2 separate regions of the Homo sapiens genome follow, and region 2 is linked to region 1. The links are contacts of gene promoters, found by promoter capture Hi-C in blood cells and fetal thymus (Javierre and others, 2016). All regions are on one chromosome and are shown on one strand. Each heading gives the region's core, a stretch centred on a gene start or on the middle of the fragment in contact. The rest is flanking DNA. Distances are from core to core; before and after follow the strand shown.

What was found. Contacts are between HindIII fragments. The CHiCAGO score rates a contact against its expected background, and 5 or more counts as called.
Region 2: a fragment that was not itself captured here is called in contact with the fragment with the promoter of CSNK1A1 in region 1 in 1 of 17 cell types (activated CD4 T cells); the score reaches 8.0 in activated CD4 T cells.

Annotation. Positions count from the first base shown.
Region 1 is chr5:149,548,622-149,555,520 of GRCh38, forward strand. It overlaps CSNK1A1 (casein kinase 1 alpha 1), which reads right to left and starts at 2,818. Exons shown (of 10, transcript NM_001892.6): 1 at 2,221-2,818; 2 at 1,454-1,560. The coding sequence starts at 2,343. It also overlaps a transcript of ARHGEF37 not described here. RefSeq lists enhancers at 880-2,079, 2,326-2,385, 2,516-2,575, 2,606-3,275, 2,975-3,768 and 3 more. The HindIII fragment of the contact is 4,606 bases long and covers 1-3,134 here.
Region 2 is chr5:170,291,397-170,298,295 of GRCh38, forward strand. It overlaps LCP2 (lymphocyte cytosolic protein 2), which reads right to left and starts at 6,381. Exons shown (of 21, transcript NM_005565.5): 1 at 6,138-6,381; 2 at 1,914-1,976. The coding sequence starts at 6,215. RefSeq lists an enhancer at 5,484-5,563. The HindIII fragment of the contact is 2,620 bases long and covers 2,590-5,209 here.

The DNA.
Region 1 (6,899 bases), core at 1,568-4,067:
AGGCCGAGGCAGGCAGATCACCTGAGGTCAGGAGTTCGAGCCCAGCCTGGCCAACGTGGTGAAACTAAAATACAAAAATTAGCTAGGCGTGGTGGCGGGCGCCTGTAATCCCAGCTACTCAGGAGGCTGAGGCACGAGAATCACTTGAACCCGGGAGGCAGAGGTTGCAGTGAGCCAAGATCGTGCCATTCATTGCACTCCAGCCTGGACCACAAGAGCGAAAACTCCGTCTTAAAGAAGAGGCTCCAGTAAACAGTAAGTACCATTCTTACCTATTCTGAATAATTTTGCAAATGTTATTTTAGATTATTGCTGGAAAATAGCTGGGCTTTAAACTATATTTTAGTCTCCATTCCATGAAGAGGATCTTTAATCCCAAAAGTTAAAACATTAAAACCCTCCAAAGTAAAGTTAACCATTTGACAGAACAATGTCTATCTCGTCATCTTTTATCCTCGTTACTGCTATTTGCACTCACCAATATTCCACACCAACAAAGGCCCCAATTTCTCTGATGTGAAGATTTACTGACAAACTCAACAGGTTAAAATTACTTATCAAAGTGTGGCTAAGTGATTAAGATTTTTTTAAATACAACTGATATGAGTAAATTTTAACATAGTTGGTGCTGCTCAAACTGCCTTTGCCACTACCTATACAAATTTAGTCCCGACTGAAACGTGCCAAATATGACCATTCACGAAAAGAAAGAGTAATTAACACTTTTAAAAGAACTACGAAGGATTTTACATAGTGTAATTCAACAATTTCGTGTCACATCTGCTGCAGAGATCACAAACACTGTCACTATGCCATCTCCTTCCTCGAACCTCCACACCGCCTCCTGCAGCTTTATTCTTGGCTTTTCAAAGGTTTAATCCACTCGGGGCTGCTAAAGGAGGAATCAAGGAAGCATAATTTGTGAACTCAAGCTGAGAAAAGGGCAGGAATATGGGGTTGAGTCACGTCGTTCCGCCATTTTCTAAGCGGAGGAGGAAGACATGTTGGAACAAAAACACAACAAAAGAGCAGCCATTTCCCAAGCCAGCTCCAATAGCAACTCGAACTGACACTGCCGGGTCGCTTCGGCACCTTCAAATCCACTTCACTGGACAAACCTAAGTACATCAGAAGTGCCGCCGTAAAAAAGGCAGCAGCCAACCCTTCCGCGTAGGGATCAAAGATGACCTGCACGCATAACTGCAAATGAAAGCCTCGGGAAGAGTGAGAATGACGGAAGCGAAATGGAGCAGTGTAATACAATGAAATAAGTTGGCAAACTGAAATTTACTCAGTAATTGAGATGACTGACTTACAGGAAACCACCAGCTATAGGGAACCCAGGTAACTAAAACACCAAGACCCGGATTCAGCTGGTCTCATTACCTGCCTCTACCCACTTCCCCATTCCGTGCTTCCCTCAGCGGATCGCCTATATGCACCGGGTTCTTACCGTATGTGGGGGATGCCAACCCCACCTTGAAGAATCTTATAGAGCTTGCTCTCGTACAGCAACTGGGGATGCCTGGCCTTCTGAGATTCTAGCTTCACTGCCACTTCCTGCAGGGGAAAGAGGGGATGATGGCATCAACATCCCTACGGATTCAATGTCACTTAGGAAAGGAGGGAGACATTAGCAAAACTCCAAGTCGCGACTACAAGAAGAAGTGAAAAGCTGGAAAGAGAAAGCTCTCGGTAATTATAAAACGAGGCAACCAGCCTCAAAGGCCTCTTCAGGGGGTAGTGACGAAATCCGTACGTCCTCTAAAGTGCAGGAAAATGATTCATCCAGAAAAAAGAGGCAACCTCTGAACGTAGTGAGAGGTTTTTAAGGAACTAGGCGATCGGAAACTGTTCTAATTGGAACAAGAGGCCCAGTAGAATTAAGAATTAAAAAAAAAAAAACATGGGAATCACTGAAAGAGGATTTTGCCGTTTCCACCTTAAAAGACGGTTAAAAAAAAAAAAAGCTCGACTAAGGGACATTTATGGGACGTGTTTAACAAGGTGGGAAACTAGTTCCCCCAACCTTTCTATCGGGTTCTTGACCCTTTTAGGGAGACAGCGGACGAGGTTCGTAAGCCAGGAAAACTAGCTCCCTGGACTCCCTGGCGAGTGCGTGCGATGAGGAGAGGCCCGAGCACTTTGGGGGTGCACGGTGGTGGTGGGGGGAATGAGTAAAAGCGCAGCGTTATCGTGAACCCCACCCCAGATGATTACCTCGCCGTTGGTGATGTTGATCGCCAAATAGATGTCCCCGAAGGAGCCAGACCCGATCTTCCGTACCAGTTTATATTTCCCTCCGACAATGAATTCAGCCTTGGAGCCGCTGCTACTCGCCATCCTGAGAGACGAAGATGGAGGCTGGGGCCAAGCCCCGACACCTCTGGGAAGAGGACGGAGGCCTCGGGGCTCCTACACTAGGCAAGGCTACGGAGGAGGGCGGCAGGAAACGGAACACGGAGGCCTTTACCGGGGTTCGGGGCCCAGAATCAGCAGAGGGGAACCTGATCACCGCCGCTCAGTCAGGTTTCTTTTTGCCAGGCCGCAGTTTGTGAAGGGCTTCTCGGCGGTTACCAGGCTGGGCCACTTGTTTCTCGGCGGCCGCCGCTGCCTCGCTTGCGCGGCGACGTCGCGGGCTGGAAAAGGGGCGCGGTGAGCTAGGGCGGCGATACCGCTGCCACCACTGCCGCCGGCTCCGGCCCAGAGGGACCCCTGTCACTCCGCGGACGACGCCATCTTGTTACTCCAGCTCCAGCCAACACAAAATGCCCCCAGTCCCCGGGAGCCGCTTCTTCACGGCGCAGAGCACTCTGGGAAAGGGATCTCGGGCGCTCGCTCCGAAGGATCGGCAGCGAGAGGGCGGAACCGGATCCGTGAGAGTCGCGGCCCACGCTCCGAGCGTCACCCTGTCACCGCCCAGCTGCGCATGAGCGCTGCAACTCCTGCTGACTGCGCAGGCGTGCCGCGGCCTGTCCTCACCCCCGTCCCGGGCTCTCTTCCACTTCCGGTCGGCGGCGGCTCAGCAGGTGTTACCTGTTACTCGCCTCGGACCCGCCGGGTCTCTGGAAGGCTGAGTGGCCCCCCGGCCTTGATATTGGGAGGAGTCACCTTCATGTTTCGTGGCAGATGAAAGCTTAAGGCCTCCTTAGGAGTTGGGTATTGACCTGTGCTCTTTGAGGCGGTTTTTAACCTTTGATCTTTCTTCTGGCCGTTCCCCCGGACCGGCCTATTCCAACCCAGTTTCTGTTTGGAAAGAGGCTGTCGCCTCTGGTGGAGAGGAAGAGAAAAGCAGCCAGCGTCGAGGAATCTCTCAGGGCTCTCGGTTGTAGCAGAGCCTAGCTAATTACCCTTCATAATTAGAATTGTCCTATCTACTACGGAGTGTTATAGACCCTCTTTCCACAGGAGGGGAAGAAAGAAAGAAGCCGGAATCCCCCTGCCATCCTATGTCTTTGCATTATTGCCTCACTACCACATATGATCTTCAGAAGAAAACCTGGTATGTTGCTCATAATGAAGATTAAGGATAGATGGAATCAACAGAAAATTAATTTAACAAGAGTGAAAAAACTGTTATGTCCCCTCAACCCCACCAAAAAAAAAAAAAAAAAAAAAAAAAAGAATCGTATGTTGGTCTTGTTGAAAACCTCAGTATTAACCTGAACAGAGTAGAGGTAACTATTACAAAATTTAATTGACAACATTTAAAACTACACGGTAATTTTTTTCTTTTTTACAAAAAATCGATCAGAGAATCAAATTTTGACCACGTTTTGTTTTACAAAATTTGACCTGGGAAAATTGGGCTTAGTAATAATAATGTTCACGAAAGAAAACTCCATGGTTGATGCTATCATCTTAAGTCAGACCTCAGTCGTAAAAATTTAAGCTAAGCCTATCCTAAATAAAATTTAATTAAAATAGAAATGGGGGGCGGGCGCAGTGGCTCACGCCTGTAATCCCAGCACTTCGGGAGGCCGGGGCGGGCAGATCACTTGAGGTCAGTTGTTCGAGACCAGCCTGGCCAACATGATGAAACCCCGTATCTACTAAAAATACAAAAATTAGCCGGGTGTGATGGCGCACACTTGTAACCCCAGCTATTCGGGAGTCTGAGAATCGCTTGAACCCGGGAGGCGGAGGTTGCGGTGAGACTAGATCACGCCACTGTACTCCAGCCTGGGCAACAGAGAGACCCTGTCTCAAAAAAAAAATAATTAATTAAATAGAAATGGGAGAAAAATGTGAAGAATTTTAACTGCAACTTTGAAAGGTGGTCAAGTAATTAGTAATAGGGTTCATCTCGGAAGACAACTGAAGAGAGAGGGGAGGAGACTTCCCCTGAAGTTTAGCATGAAGTTTTTAAAGCCCAACCAACACTCAGGGTGCCCAACTCCCAAATCAGCACTGTTAGACATCATTCTCCTTTGGTGACTCTAAAGCATGTTTTGACTAAGTTAAAATCTGCTGTTAAATTCTGATATAAAATGCAGCCGGGCATGGTGGGCTCACACCTGTAATCCCAGCACTTTGGGAGGCCGAGGCGGCTGGATCACCTGAGGTCGGGAGTTCGAGACCATTCTGGCCAACGTGGTGAAACCCTGTCTCTACTAAAAATACAAAACTTAGCTGGGCATGGTAGCATGTGCCTTGTAGCTCCAGCTACTAGGGAGGCTGAGGCAGGAGAATCGCTTGAACCTGGGAGGCAGAGGTTACAGTGAGCCGAGATCGTGCCACTGCACTCCAGCCTGGAGACAGAGCGAGACTCCACTCCATCTAAAAAATTAATTAATTAATCAATTCTGGTCTTAAAAAAAAAAAAGCCAAGTTTAAGCATCTTGAGTTTTCCAGAGATCACTCCTTTTCTGCTAATTTTCTCACACACATCCAAAGTTTAATGGATTCCTCAGCTTGAGGAGTTCTCCATAAGGGGATGAGGTATACATTTAGACGGATATTTTGGTATTGTGATAAAAATGCTCAATGAAGCCGGGGGCAGGGTAAGGGTGGGCATGAAGTGGTCTAAATTAGTGATTCCCAAAGATCTGTGTATGGACAGGTGCAAGTGGCTAACAAAGTTTGCCATGAGGATGTGAGAAAAGTAAGCAATACATCTTTCATTTATTTATCTGATTTCACATTATATTTCATTCTGAGATTTAGTCTTTTCACATATGTGTCATTAAAATGCTCTTTTATAAAAAGGTGCCGATGGTAGATGGTTTTGGTTTTTAAAATATTCTTGCTCGGTTAAAAGTTGAGCCCGGGTGCAGTGGCTCACACCTGTAATCCTAGCACTTTGGGAGGCCAAGGAAGGGCAATCACCTGAGGTCAGGAGTTCGAGACCATCCTGGCCAACATGGTGAAACCCTGTCTCTACTAAAAACACAAAAATTAGCCGGGCGTGGTGGCGCATGCCTGTAATCCCAGCTACTTGGGAGGCTGAGGCATGAGAATCGCTTGAACTGGGGAGGTAGAGATTGCAGTGAGCCGAGATTGTGCCACTGCACTCCGGCCTGGGCAAGAGAGTGAGACTTTGTCTCAAAAAAAAAGTTGAAAGCTGCGTACGGTGGCTCATGCATGTAATCCCAACACTTTGGGAGGCCAAGGCAGGAGGATCATTTGACTCCAGGAGTTCCAGGCTGCTGTGAGCTATGATCAAACCACAGCATTCCAGCCTGAGCAACAGAGTGAGACCTTGTCTCAATAAATGAATGAATGAATGAATGAATGATAGGTACTTGTATGTCTAATCCTCCTCGCCTTTTTTTTAGAACTTGTGTAAGCCCATTAAATTCTACTGGTCTAAATGACTTCTGGAAACCCTTCTAACCCTGAGATTCTATAATTTTGTATATAAGGTATGAGTCCTCCTTTGTTTCCTGCCTGCTATAGTCACCATTCCAACACTGACAGTGCCCAGCAAAATGCACAAAAATGAGATGTGAGTGGGTCTAGCCTTTTCAAATGTGATTTTAGTTTCTTAAGATTTAAATTTATTGGATTTAAGAATGGCAAAATTGTTTTTTTTTTTTTTTACATAGAAAATGAAGTCCTCAGGTGTTGGCTATGACTCAGCCTTCTTCTTAAAGTCATGTATCATTTGCAGTAATTTTAGCCTAAAAGATTGAAGAATAACCTGTTTTTGGTGTTGCTGTTAAAGTCACAAATCATTCTGTACTTATTGAATCAGCAGCAGCTTTGGTGTAATGAAAGGAGTCTTTTAGGCCAGGCACGGTGGCTCACGCCTGTAATCCCAGCACTTTGGGAGGCCAAGGCAGGCGGATCACAAGGTCAGGAGTTCGAGACCAGCTGGCCAATATGGTGAAACCCCGTCTATACTAAAAAGTACAAAAATTAGCCGGGCGTGGTGGCAGGCGCCTGTAGTCCCAGCTACTCAGGAGGCTGAGGCAGGAGAATCGCTGGAACCCGAGAGGCGGAAGTTGCAGTGAGCTGAGATCGTGCCATTGCACTCCACCCTGGGCTACAGAGTGAGACTCTGTCTCAAAAAAAAAAAAAAAAAGAAAGAAAGAAAGGAGTCTTCAAAGAGCAATTTCTGGCTTCTAGATCAGATGAATTCACTAAAAATATCAAAAGTGTAGAATAAAAATAAAAATTTTAGACCTTGAGGGAAATACAGAGATCACCTAGTTCAATAATAATAATTGTATTTTTTAATGCTTTGCAATTTACTTATGAGTCAAAGTCTCACTCTGTCACCCAGGCTGGAGTACAATGGCACCACCATAGCTCACTATAGTCTAGACCTCCTGGGCTCAAGCAATCCCCCTGCCTCAAGCTTCCCCAGTAGCTAGGACTATAGGCAGGCACCACCATGCCTGGCTAATTTTTTTTTTTTTTTTAACTTTTTGTAGAAATAGTGTCTTGCCTTGTTG
Region 2 (6,899 bases), core at 2,650-5,149, about 21 Mb after region 1:
CAGAAGCTGCCTTTACATCCCCCAGTTGCAGGGACAGGCACTGGATTCTTCTTCTTTTCTTCTGGTTCCTATCACCCTACTTTGCACTTCCTCCTCTTCATACAATGAACAGAATGTGCCACATTGTCTGAAGGACTGATAGAGGACTGATTGGAGCAGAGGAAACATAGCTGCCTAGATACCATCTCTCAAACAACCCTGTTCTACCAGGCCTGACACTCGCACCAGGACTGTTGTGGGGAATTACAGAGCCGGGAGGGGCCATCACCCACTATGACCCAGTCCAATGTGCTCAGTCAACAGGGTAGGAAGCAAGGCAGGCTCAGAGAGGGCAAGTACTTGCTCAGGGTGACCCAGGCAACAGGGCGTCGTAGGCACCATCCTCAAAGATGTCTTCCTCCCTTTCCATTCAACTGTGATAAGTCTCTGTTCTCAGTGCTAATAGCACCAGAATGAAATATTTGGGTTTAGCAGTAATTTGCAAGAATGGCACTAAAGCTCCAGGAATTCTACTGACTCAAATCTCAATACAAATAAATAATACTGTTAAAAAGTCAAATGGTATCAGACTAAATTAAGTGTATGCCTTAGTTCAATTAGTAGGTATGTGACATAGAACAAATCACATCACAGCTCTGCATGTGTTTCCTCATCTGCAAATGAGGTAGTTGGAAGCCTTTCTGAACATACCTTTCTGCTATAAAACAAGTTTCTAGAAGGCAGAAATCACATCTTAGCCATTTCTCTATCCCCACCACCTATAATGCTCTCCAGTATGTAAAAGCAGTTCGGGAAACTGCTTGTCAAGTGAACGAATAGGCGAATGAATGAATGATTTAGGTGGACAGTGAATAAACATGTCTTACATGGCACCTGGAAGCAAAACTCAGACCAATAGGAGCACAGGTTAGTTTCAGCACAAGACTTGAGAGCTGCCTAGAAAGGGGCAGATGACTGTGGGTGGTGGTGAGCTCACCATCACTGAAGGAATTCAAGAAGATGTTGGTAGCAGAGATGTAATATAAGAAATGGATTGGTGTTCTCTGGGGGCAAGCTGGAGCTTGTGATCTCTCTGGTCTCATCCAACTGGCCTGAAGTCTCATGGTCAAGTTCCCTTACTGACAGTGTCTTACAGGGAGACACAACTTAGCTTACTCTATTCACTCTGAATTTAAATTAGGAACATCTACCCCCATGAGACCCTTGAAGTCTTATTTTCAAAGAGTAAAGCAAAGTTCCCAGAAAGGATGGATTGGTGCAGTCAGGGTCTTTCTTAACCCATGGGCAAAGGTGTCATTTCAGGGAAAATGCTCAAACCACCTCCCCGACCACAACCTAGCACCTCTGTCTCCACCATTAGAGCTGCATCCTTTTCCCTTTAATGGCTTAGTCTTTAATACATACCTGCACCTTGGTCTTAGACTTCAAGCTTTTTGAAGTATAATACAGTGGAGACAGCCATATCACATGTGTGCTTGATGCAAAATCAGCTTTATGAATTTGGTAGTGAGAAAGAAGGAAGTAATTGAAACAATGAGGGTGATGCCATCCTTTATTCCACTCATGAGTATGTGCTCCAGAGTGAGAGATTGGAGGTGAGAAGCTTCTGTTCACCCATATGGTCCTTCTTCCCCTTGGGCTTCTCAAAGGATGGATGGCATTTAAATAGATTTTCCAGATTATTTGTTTACTATACTTGGATTCCTCCTTAAGGTGTAAGTGGAAGATCAGAGAGGGGTTCTGGATGATAGGATCCTGAAAGGTAGTGAGAGAGGGGGCCCTACCAAATTTCTGGAAAAAGCAAAGGGATCCTCGGGTGTCCCCAGGGAAAGGGTAGGCCAGTTGGCCCTGCAGCCATGGGGAAAAGTGCCGAACAGTCTTGGTTTCAGTGTGTTGGACTAGCCAGAGCTTACCAAGAAGCGAGCCCCATCGATGTGGTACTTCTTCACTGCCTTCTCACAGTCCTTATAGTTGAGCTGCAAAGAGAAGGGGAAGGTGTTGTTAGTGACGGGCAGTCTCTTACCATTGGTTCCTCTCCCTTGCCTGCCCCAGAAACTTAGCACTTTGCGGTACTTGTGGCTAGCCAGGCTCCCCACTGCCCTCCCTTGGCTAACAGAGGGCCCAGTCCCCACCTCAGCCTCGCTTTCACTACCCCCTTGGGACTGCCTGAAATGGAGAAATTGCCTTGCTCTAAGGCTTCGGGGCCAACCCTTACAGAAAGACTGCCTTCAAGGCATGCAGAGCTCTGCCCTATGCTCCTCAGGAAGGAGAGCTAAAAGAAGAAAAGAAATACCATCCATTGTCTCGATGCCCAGAGACGACCTCGGTGTTTCTTTCCATGCTTTCTTCCTAGCATGTTTCTAAACATAATTGAGGTTATGATTTATATTCAATCTCATTATTCTGACTTTTTTCTCTTAAATTACCTAAAGGGATAATATAAACACTGCCTAGTGTTATGCAAACTCAATTTAAAATAATTTTAATGACCACAACATTATTTAATCATGCCCTTATTGCTGAACATTTAGATTATTTACCAAGCTGCTGTTTCAATAATGATAATAAAAACGGCGAACAATTATCGAAAGCTTTCTGTGTGGCAGGCAGTGTACCAAGTAGTTAAACTAGTCTTCAATCATTTAACCCTCACATTTTGCAGATGGGGAATGAGAGGCACAGACAGCAAGTAACTTGCATGAGGTTCCATGGGTTTTAGGTGACAAGTTTCAGAACAGGCTTTAATGTCTCTTTCAGAAATATTCCCCTTTTAATTACAGCATAACTTATATACAGTAAGTAAAATGAGCAAATGAAAATGCAGCTTCATTTGTTTGCAGTACCTCATCCCAATCAAAATAGAGACAATCATGGATACTATTTTGCGAACTTTTTTCTCCCTCTTTGAGATAAATTGTTTAAGTCAGAACCTCAGAACCGAGTTATATAGGATCCATAGGAACGAGCATTTTTAAGATCTTGGTTATTTTCCTAGACCAATCAGCAATCATATGAGGTGCTAGTTTCAACTTGTCCTCAACAGCATAAATGTTCACATTTGAAGTATCTCTCAACTTGCTGCTTTGGGGTGGAGCATTTGAGGTTAAATGTTTCTCCTTGAGGATCCTAGGTTCTTCTCACAAGGGTGGGCCTCATGGTTTGTGGCAGCCTTCTTTTGGAGCACATTTTAAGCCATATTTTTATCTTATAGCTAGCAAATCCAAAGAATAAATACAATTGTTATGAAATCTTAGCTTGGAAGGGTGGGATGATTATCACACTCAGAAAGCTGACTTAGAAGTTGATATTGAAAGCACATCCCATCTATGGAGCCCTGGTATCCCCTTTATCTACAGGCAGTGGGGGGTAAGTGGTTCTTGGAAGAGTCAACTGCCTTTAATTCATCATTCTCACTGTTATCATTATGAGATAAACCAGATGATTTTGAAGAGTGCTAACTTTGTGTCTAGATCAGCAGAGAGTCCTGCAGACTGGGACCCAGGCATTTGATTCTGCTCCAGCAAGATCTAGGCTTGTGGACCTCAAATCTGTATTTTTAAGGAGCACCCTAGACGATTCCTATGGCATCCAGCATTGGTAGGCACTGGTCCAGAAAAGTTACCTGGATTTGTAGTAAGGAAGACTGAGGCCTCTAGAGGGAAAGAGGCTGGTCTAAGGTCACACAGTGAGCTGGGATACCAGCTGGGACCCCACCTGGGATTAGGACACACAGCTCTGAGCCAGTGCCTCTCCACTGCACGACCCAAGGATGTTCTCCTGCAAGTCAAAAGGAATTGGAGAGATTGAACAAATATGTAACATGGTCTCTGTCCTCAGGAGCTTATATTCCAGACACAGGACGAGGTACCCATGTCAGAGACAAGAAGACGCAAAGTCCCACCAGTCTGCATGGGTGTCCCCAGCTAGGAGCCAGTTAATAGAGAAGGTAAAAGGGCAGAAGGAACACGCATTAGGATCCATTTGTCTGCTGAGTGCCTTGCACACATCATTTGCTTTAATCCTCACAACCAACCCATTGGGTTAGTTACTGTTCATATCTCTATTTCACTGATGAGGAAGTTGAGGCACAGAGAGGCAAAGCAACTACAGGAAAGTCGCCAAGCTAGCAGGTGGCAGAGCCAGGGTAAAGTGTGTCCGACCTCAGAGCTGAGTCGAGAGCTGTCTCCAAGGGAGGCCTGACCCCACTACTTGGGTAGAGTTTGCATCTGCAGATCAATTCTTTACATGTCATGTTTGACAGCTAAGATCCATTCCCAAATGACTCTGCGGTCCATTCGTTTGGTAGTTTCTTTCAGGGGGCTGAGGTACTCAGAATCTGAAGGGTTTCTATCCAAGTCTGTGGAGGGACTAGAACTTCCAGGATCACAGATTTGCCTCAGTCTCCTAGTTTCTTCCCTCAGTCCATTTATGGCAGAAGAAGGAACCTGCCTGGGTGCTGTAGATTTGTCCTGGGGTCTGAGATCTCCAGGAAGAAAACTCTCCCTTCCCCCAGCTCAGGCAGTGAGGTCTTCCTGTACCATCCCTGACCCGTGGTCCATCTCCCTGTACTGATGGGAGTTTTAGGGATCAATTCTCTGTTGCTCAATTGGATTGTATAATTCTCCTGGTCACACCTGAATGTTAGGCCTATCTGTGCCTCTCAGCCCGTCCCAAGTCTTTCTCTTCATAATTCTCAATTCCTTTCTTTTTCCCTTATCAAGGTAACATGCCACTTTATTCCCTCTTGGCAAATTTTACCTTGTTGCCCTATCTTATTTGGTCTATATTTGAGCAAGATATTTAGAAACATCCTTCAAAAAACCAGTTGCGCAACAATATTTGCTGAAATCTAAGTTTATTATGACCTTGCAGAAGGAAAATAACAGAAATGAAAGCACAAAATATGGCAAAAAACAGGATCTGTGAACTGTACCCCTACCATACCACACCTAGTTCAACATGTTCTCATTTTCTTCTTCAGGTTGGGGGAGAACAGCTGTGACTATAAATGCCTCGGAAATGCATAGACCCCAGGTTTGGCTATACGTCCTAGGGAACCTCGTCTACCCTCTTGAATCTCAATTTCCCCAGGAAAAACACGAAGCTGAATTAGATGACTTCTACCATCTTAGCTTTACAATCTCATCTTTATGACAGTCTGGAATATCAACAGAATCCGATGCCAGCCTGCAGGGATGAGGGTGTTAGAAGCTTAACCGTCTCGCACAAGTCATCTTACCACATGGTCAGGGTAGAGGGACTATAACTAAGTCATGTGGCTTGAGATCTGCCCAAGCAGATGCGTTGTCCCCTTCTGCCAATGACCAAGCACAGGGATCCTTCAACCTTTCCTCTAAGTCCAGAAGATAAGACAGCAACGCTCTGGTCCCAGCACCGCCACAAGCCTCTTTTCCTCTAGGGGCCTCAGTTTTCATAGCTATAAATTGGGGCTCACATCAGTTTTCTGTCCTGCTTCACAAGACTCTCATAAGGCTCCAAGGAGACTGCCCCAGGCGGGAGCTTGAGGACCCCCCTTAGGGTCGTGAGCAGTGAAAGCCCAAATGCTGTGTCTGGCACTGCTCATCATAGTCCTCTATCCAGCCCTCCCACCCTGCCTATTCTTTCTCCTGCCTCCAGGACACCACGTCTCCCCTTTCTAGTAAGTAGCGTTGATCTCATTAGCAGTTACAACAGTTCTCTGCATCTCAGAGCATGGACTTTAAAACCAGATAGGTGTGGCTTGAGTCTTGCCTCTATCACATGTAGTCCCTAGGGCTTCGGACCATTTCACTTCCCTGAGCTGATTTTGCAGCTGAGTCAAGGGGATAACAATGCTGACCTCACAACATAGTAGGGAGCGCTAAATGGGACAGTGCCTGTGAGACACCGAATTCAAACCCTAGCACATAATAGGCACATACTCATTTGAGGGCTTCTGCTCCCATCCTTCTCTCCGGAACTCATGGTCAGGAAAACTCAGCGGTCTATATGGCGCTCACTCAACCAGTAAAGTTGCCATAGGGTTCCATTGCTATCTTATACACCTCCCACATTCTGCCCCAATTCCATCGTCAAGCCTCAGCTCAGCCCACCAAGGGCACTAGCATCATGACCATTCACACAAGAGCAAGGCTTACCTTCTTGAAATAGTCAGCAAGGCTGTCGGGGTCCCAGCCCAGGACCTCTGAGCGAAAGGGCACATTCCTCAGTGCCATGGCTGCTCTCCCGGGAAGAAGCTCACAAGCTGAGCATGGGCGCTTCACCCATGGGCAGAGAAGCTCAAATCCAGAGCTCGGAGGCGTTCTTGGCTCTTCCAACTCCCAGCTACCCTGTGGAACACCCCTGTTGGAGCCGATGTCTTTTCTGGCGTAGCCAGATCCCAGAAAGCAACGGCTTCCTCTGCGAACAAATATGGTCTCTTCTCAGAAAACGACTCAGCTAGTTTCCTTTACCACTTCCTCTGCTGGGCTCTAAATAAGTAAACAAGGAAGCCCAGCTCTGGAGGCTTGAGATGCAGAGAGAGCCACAGGGTTGGTAATTCCCCACTGGCTCCAGTCACCCCAACCCAGTAGGAGAGGCAATGAAGGGGTCTTAAACTCCAATGTGAGTCTGAGTAATTTTCCTTTAAACTCTGGGCACCCATATGTCTACACTGCATTCTTGCTCAGCTGGGGCTTTGCAGACCAAAATCTATCCTGACGGTTGACCTGAAATACAGACAATTTCCCACATCAGTGAACTGCTGGAGCATGTTTTTTTAATGCTTTCCAACCACTTTCCCCTCCCACCATCAAAGACTGGGATTCTTTCAGCTGCCTCTTTACAGTTGTCATGAGAGGGTCCTCAAGGAGTGAGTGAGTCAGGCACCCAGGGCTGAACAAGGTGCTACACTGTGCAGA